Linked DNA regions of Homo sapiens: region 2 is linked to region 1. The links are contacts of gene promoters, found by promoter capture Hi-C in human tissues and cell types (Jung and others, 2019). All regions are on one chromosome and are shown on one strand. Each heading gives the region's core, a stretch centred on a gene start or on the middle of the fragment in contact. The rest is flanking DNA. Distances are from core to core; before and after follow the strand shown. Region 1 holds the start of CYP24A1 (cytochrome P450 family 24 subfamily A member 1). Region 2 overlaps TSHZ2 (teashirt zinc finger homeobox 2).

Region 1 (3,300 bases), core at 599-3,098:
AATAACATACAGTCAGAGAGTCACTGGAGTAATAAAAAGCCTTTTGCGATCGTGCACTTGTAGGCACCTGCCCCATAGCAGACCATACAGCCTGTGAAGCACCGTGAATTAATAGGGTTTTTAATTCCAGTCATTATATCCTGGAAAATATAACGATTAGGCATTACAGTTTGGGGGTAAATAAAGGTGCTAACTTGTTAAATGCTAACAACTAAAAAGCAGAAGAATCACATCCCATAGTAGCATTTGTCGACCTAAAACACAACTTTGATATCCCTCCTTATTCCACCTTTACAAGTAGAAATAAGGCATGTCCCCCAATCCTCTGCAGAAAATGTCACTGTAAAAAGCCAAAGAGGCTAACTCCTCGCTTTTGAGCTTACAAGGTGTTTCAGGGAGTTTTAAGGGATAATTTTGTTTGTATAAGATGTTTGCCTGGTACGCTGACTTCAGAACCTCATCCTGCCCAAGAGTCTGAACACCACAGTTGGTACAACCCTGTTTTGGCGTTTCTTTGATGGGAGGGTGTGGCCCTGCCCTGTTGCCAGAGAGAACGCAGGTGCTGGGTGCACAGCACGGCTTTTCCGTGGACCGACTCTAATCTGTACAAGAGCTCAGGGTTGCGATGGCACGGGAGAGGGGCTTTGGTATCCGCCCTACGTAAGAAGCTTCCAACCCCAGGGAACTCTAACTCCGCCTCTTCACAATTTCCAGGCGCCGTCAGGCTCATCAGGTCTGGCCGCATGCCCAGGTCCCTCGGATTGGACTCACAGGATCAGCAGCCCGTAGCCTTCTTTGCGGTAGTCGCGATAGGCCTTCCACGGTTTGATCTCCAGCCGCTGCGGGTACGCGCTCTCGGTGCGGTACAGCGCTTCCAGCAGGCATGGCGAGCCCAGGTGCACCGACTCAAAGGAACCCAACTTCATGCGGAAAATCTTGCCATACTTCTTGTGGTACTCCACCTGCAGCCGGCCGGGCACAGCGCGGTGTCAGCGCGCATCCTCCGCCGTGCCCGAAGCGCTTTCCCTCCTCCCGCCTCCTTCCTCCTAGGGGACCGGGGACCCTCCCTGCCCAGACGCCGAAGCGCACCATGCGCCCGAGGCGCGCATGTCGGGGAGGGTTTGGAGCGCCACTGGGAGGGCGGAAGAGGGAGGAGAGAGTCAGGGGCGCGAAAAGGGGTTTACCAGGGTGTCGTGCTGTTTCTTGAGACCCCCTTTCCAGAGAATCTGCAGCAGGCTGCCCAGCAGTGGCCAGCTGGTGGGGCCCGGCAGGGCGGCCGCGTTCTGAGTCTCGCCACCAGCTGTCAGCGGGCAGACTGGCACCTCTCGCGGCTGAGGGGACGTGTACGCCGTAGATGTCACCAGTCTCGGGGGCTGCCTCGGACTGCGCAGCTGCTGCAGGAAGGCGGCAAGCGAGCGGCTCTTGCTGATGGGGGAGCTCATGGCAGCGGGGGACACCGGAGCGCGGGAAGGCAGGAGGATGGGGTGGGGCGAGGTTGGTACGAGGTGCTAGTGGGAGTCGGGGCTTAACGATTCTGGGAAAAGGAAGCAAAGAGGGCCAGCTGGTGTGATGGAGCGGGGTGAGGCGGGACAGGCAGCAGAAAGGACCTCGGCGAGGATGCTCGACGCTGCACCACGCGACAGCCTCAGAGCATTGGTGCCTCCTTGCACTGGCCGCAGGGGCTGGAAGAGGGTGGCCGGTGTCTGGGGACCTCTTGAAAAGGGAAAGCTGGGAGTCCTCCTGTTGGTCCGCAAGGCTGACCTCTAGGGTCTGGCTGGAGCCACGGGGAGGTGTCAAGGAGGGTAGATGAGATGCTGCTGGCGCTGCGTTTCCTCCTGTCCCTCTCCATGTTCCTATGCCCAGGGACCATGCATTTATGGAGACAGAGCATGCCCTGGGTGGCCAATGAGCACGCAGAGGAGGGCGGAGTGGCCCCCGGCTGGCCAGACTCCGAGGGACGCGGGACCCAGGGGAGGGGGGGTGGAAGGAGGATGGAGTCAGCGAGGTGAGCGAGGGCGTCCGGGCCTGGGGTGACCGGGGCTATGTTCGCTGGGCGCGGGAGGTGGGGTGGGGGCGGCAGACTCCACCCCGGAGATAACCCCCAGGAAGTCATGCGAAGCCCGGAGTTCACCGGGTGTGCTTCGAACGCGCCTCCCCGCCCTCCCCCGGCGGGCAGGAGCCGGCAGCGGCGGCCGTGGTTGCCGCCCGGCGCTTGCACAATCGCGATGCCGGGCGGGCGAGGTCCCCGAGTGCGGGCCCAGAAAAGCTGCCGGCGTCTGCCAGGGCCCCGGGGAGCCCGGGCGCCTCCCGGGGAGCCAGATACCCCCAGCCTGGACTGAAGTGATTTTTTTTTTTTTTTTGCCTTTTTTTTTTTGGAGGAAGTTTGGCTTTCTGCGCCTCCCAGGGTGGGGAGGATTTGAGTCTTACTGAAATGCACCAGAAGAGGAGACTTTCTTAACTTGAGCAAGAAGGGGAGTTTGTAGAATTTCCTTCCTGCTGTTTCATGTTTGGTTGTTTTGCAGATTAAATGAATTAATGCACGTAAAGCGGCAACAACGAAGCCTTGTCTATAGTCAACAGTCAATAAAAGTTAGTTGCTGTTGTTACTTCTTTAGGAAGTTAGGAAATGCGCCTTGAGAGCGTGGCTTGCACCAACGATGCTTGAATTCAGGCTGGGCCACCTCCCCTATGTCCACTGCCCGCCTCTGTTCTTCTACACCGACTACCTTGTGCAAAGGAGGGGCACACAGAGCTTGAAACCACCGCCCCCAGTACTCCCCCTCTCCCCCAAGGTGCGTCCTAGGCAGGTCCAGTGACAAACATACACAATTTCTAGAGTTACCGCGGCTGGCAAGAGTAGAACTCGCTTTGCTAATTCAGGAACGGAAGTTGGAGATTTTTGTTGATTGTTTTAAAGTGGCTCGAATCCTTTCAACCTGATCCAATACAAAACTACCACCAGCCAGGGAGGAGGGGAGGGACATTCTGTTTCCTCGCCCTGCTTTTCAATTACGTGTCTCAGTCATTTTTGCCCCAAGTGTTGGCAAATCCTTCCCTGGTAAATTCTTTTGTAAGCCTCTAGTTTGTTTCTTAAAAATCTTTTGCAGTCCAACTTAAGCTTTAACACCATCATTTCTGATTTGTCTGGAGGGGCTAATGACTGTTTATGTTAATAAAAATAATAGCTATTGATATATACTAAACTTTATGAATCTTGTACATATTTATATATACATTGTATGGTATATATGTTACAGCATACACTATAGATTATGTTATATGCAATACACACTAAATATA
Region 2 (2,867 bases), core at 51-2,550, 840 kb before region 1:
CCTCTCTGCAATGCTGATCAGAAACAGTGATGTGAACCGTCCGGAACATCTGTGCACTAGCCAATAAATGATTGAATATTGATAAGCCATTGATAATTGATTATTCAACATACAGAATCAGTAGCAAAGCATTTTCTTGTCTAATTTGATGAGGAATTAGCATCTTTCTATTCTAATCATAAGAGCATTAAAAATTATATTGTTCCTTTTTCCCAGTGGTTGCCAGGAAGCTCATATACGAAGTGAATGGTTAATCACAGTAGCCATTCTAATTTTTATCATTAAGATATTTGCTTTATCCTCCTTTTTAAGCTTTTTTTATTTATTTCCATTATATATCACCTTAAATCTTTTTGTAGCTAAAGGTGGAATATCAATTTTTTTAATTGCATGTTTAAAGCCATAACCCTGGCCTGCTTGATAGATACTTTAGAAATGTTATATCCACCAGTGGCAGGGTGTGAATAGTTAATTGAATCAGCAATTAAATACATCATTATAGATAATTTCTAGAAAATGTTAAGCTTCAGGACTTTAGCCAAGAATGTATCACCCAGGCAAGTAACATTTCTACTAGAAAATCAGGTTCTACCATAAATTCAAGGTCTGACTATTGCCATCGGAAGGGTTTCAAGCTTAATATAAACCAGGAATGTTTCTCATCACTCGAATGCATTTGCCAAAGAACTTCAACTTCTGTCTCCTTTCCTGTTGAACTTTAAAAACCGGAGAGGCAACTGTCTGTCGAGACTGTTTTGTCTAGAGCAGGGCTGGAGGCAGGAATCCAGCATTATAAGTTTCAATTCTTGGTCCTCAACTCAAAGCTTTGGGAAGCACCTTCATTGTACCCTGTTAATCACAAAATTAACTTAAAACTAAAAGAGTCTGTCTTCTCTTTGCTTCCTACAAAGCAGGATGTATGGGGGCGGTGATTATACACAGACCCCAGGACTGTATTTCTGTGATCTAGCATCGAAAACCATTTATGGCTGAATTTAACTCCGGAAAGCCCTGCTTTCTCTTTTCTTCTGATCCTCCATATCAATATCAGTCTGATGACTCTGGCATTTACTGGCACAGCTGACCGTAAACACACTGCAGCCATTAACCAGAAATCACCCACATGTGGGATTTGGTCATAAACATGGGCCTTGCGTCTAGACTAATTATATGGATAATGGTTGTGGGGGGCGGGGGAGGGCGTAAAAAGAGGAAGAATGCCAAAATCTGGAAGATATTCTAGGTAGTTTTCCGTAACTTTTCTAAAAACAAAGAAATCAGCTAAAAACAGCAAGCACTTTATTTTTTAATAATATAACTAATAGGCATCCACTGGAGGAAAAGAAAGAGAAAGAGAGAGAGAGAGAGACAGGGAGGACAGAGCCAGGCCAATGTTAATTTGTATCACTAACATTTTGGGACACTTTAAGGTTTACTACAAAAATTCTAGATCAGGGTTGATACACTGAAACCCTCAGGCCAAATCCAACCCACTGCCTGTTTTATAAATAAAGTTTTATTGGAACACAGCCATGTCCATTTGTTTACATGTTATCTATGGCTAATTTCACGATACAATGGCAGAGTTACAGAGACCATATGGTATGCAAAGCCTAAAATATTTCTTTATTATCTGCCCCTTTCCAGAATAAGTTTGCCAGCTCCTGATCTAGACTTTTTTGTCTCTACATATTTATCTTTTACATAGTCTTTCAACTTTTTTTTTAACCTTTTGGCTTGAAATAATTATAGATTCATAAGAAGTGCAAGGAAATGTAAGAAGAAGCCCAGTGCACCCTTTCCGAAGCTTCCCCCAGTGCTTGCATAACTATAGGGCAATAACAAAGCCAAAGCTAGTTCAGATTTCACCAGTTCACCTGCCATCATTTGAGGTGATATGTAGGCTTTTTAAACATAAAAGGGGTATGAAATACAATGCCTTTAACGTTAAGAGTGATAATAATGAGAAGCCTTCAATTGACAGACTGAAGAGAAAGAAACGTGAATACGGTTAGTGCAGCCTGAGAATCTCCTAAGAGTCCGATATGATCCAACAGTCCTAAGAAAACCAGAACTATTTCCTCTGTACCAGTAGTCACTCCTAAGTCATAACAGCCAGGACATTTAGGTGGAGATTGTATGTTTTATTTTCTCCTAAACTTATAATCCTCTCTACTTTCCTTCTTCTGCATCCCCATCATCTTGACACTAAAAAAAGAAAAAGAAAGACAGAAAATGTGTGCATGAAATGTGACCAGGGAATCAAAGATGACAGAGCTTTGATAAGGTCCAGAAAGTCTCAGCCCCTCCAAAGCAAGCGATTAAAGAGAAAGGTGACGTTCGGTTTATTCAAATATGTTTATCTGACATCTGTCTGGGTTTCATCTGAAGTGTGTAGGCTCCTTCTGGATCCTTCCCCACAAGAGCCTGGCTTCAGTATCATACACTTTGCGTGGGATGAAGTTCTCAAGCCTCAACAGCTAAGGAAATCTGCCAGGGTGTCTGGCAAACTGTGTAAGAGGGAGAAACACCCCAGCTCTGAATTCAGCCTGCTGTGAATTATATTATAACCAACTGGTTATAATATATGGACAGAGTTACCAGGTGTCTATGCGGGATTTGGATGTACTAATGTTTGCTTGTGTTGAGTGAGGCTGGGCTAATGAGCCTCGGTTACAGGTGTTTGGGAGAAGTATGAATACAGTTGGTAGGGCATAGTGATAAAGCTTTGCTCTGTTTTGTTTTTAACAAAGGCTACTTAAGAAGCTGGAATTATAAAGCATTGTGGTCTGAGAAATTTATAGGGCAGCTTGAACGGAAGGTAGTAACTAACCAGGGAGAAGCCACGGAAAGCTCTGAATCCTCTC

The links. The method cuts DNA at HindIII sites, captures the fragments that hold promoters and counts their contacts. A contact is called where the count stands out against the background at its distance.
Region 2: a contact is called between a fragment that was not itself captured here and the fragment with the promoter of CYP24A1 in region 1, in 6 of the 25 tissues and cell types used here (H1 embryonic stem cells, heart left ventricle, lymphoblastoid cells and 3 more).

What each region holds. Positions count from the first base shown.
Region 1 is chr20:54,172,138-54,175,437 of GRCh38, forward strand. It overlaps CYP24A1 (cytochrome P450 family 24 subfamily A member 1), which reads right to left and starts at 1,849. Exons shown (of 12, transcript NM_000782.5): 1 at 1,185-1,849; 2 at 772-962. The coding sequence starts at 1,442. RefSeq lists an enhancer at 1,479-2,072. The HindIII fragment of the contact is 4,712 bases long and covers 1-3,300 here.
Region 2 is chr20:53,328,469-53,331,335 of GRCh38, forward strand. The region is part of intron 2 of TSHZ2 (teashirt zinc finger homeobox 2); the gene reads left to right. Among named protein-coding and RNA genes, the nearest start is that of TSHZ2-AS1, 170 kb to the right of the region's middle. The HindIII fragment of the contact is 3,606 bases long and covers 1-2,867 here.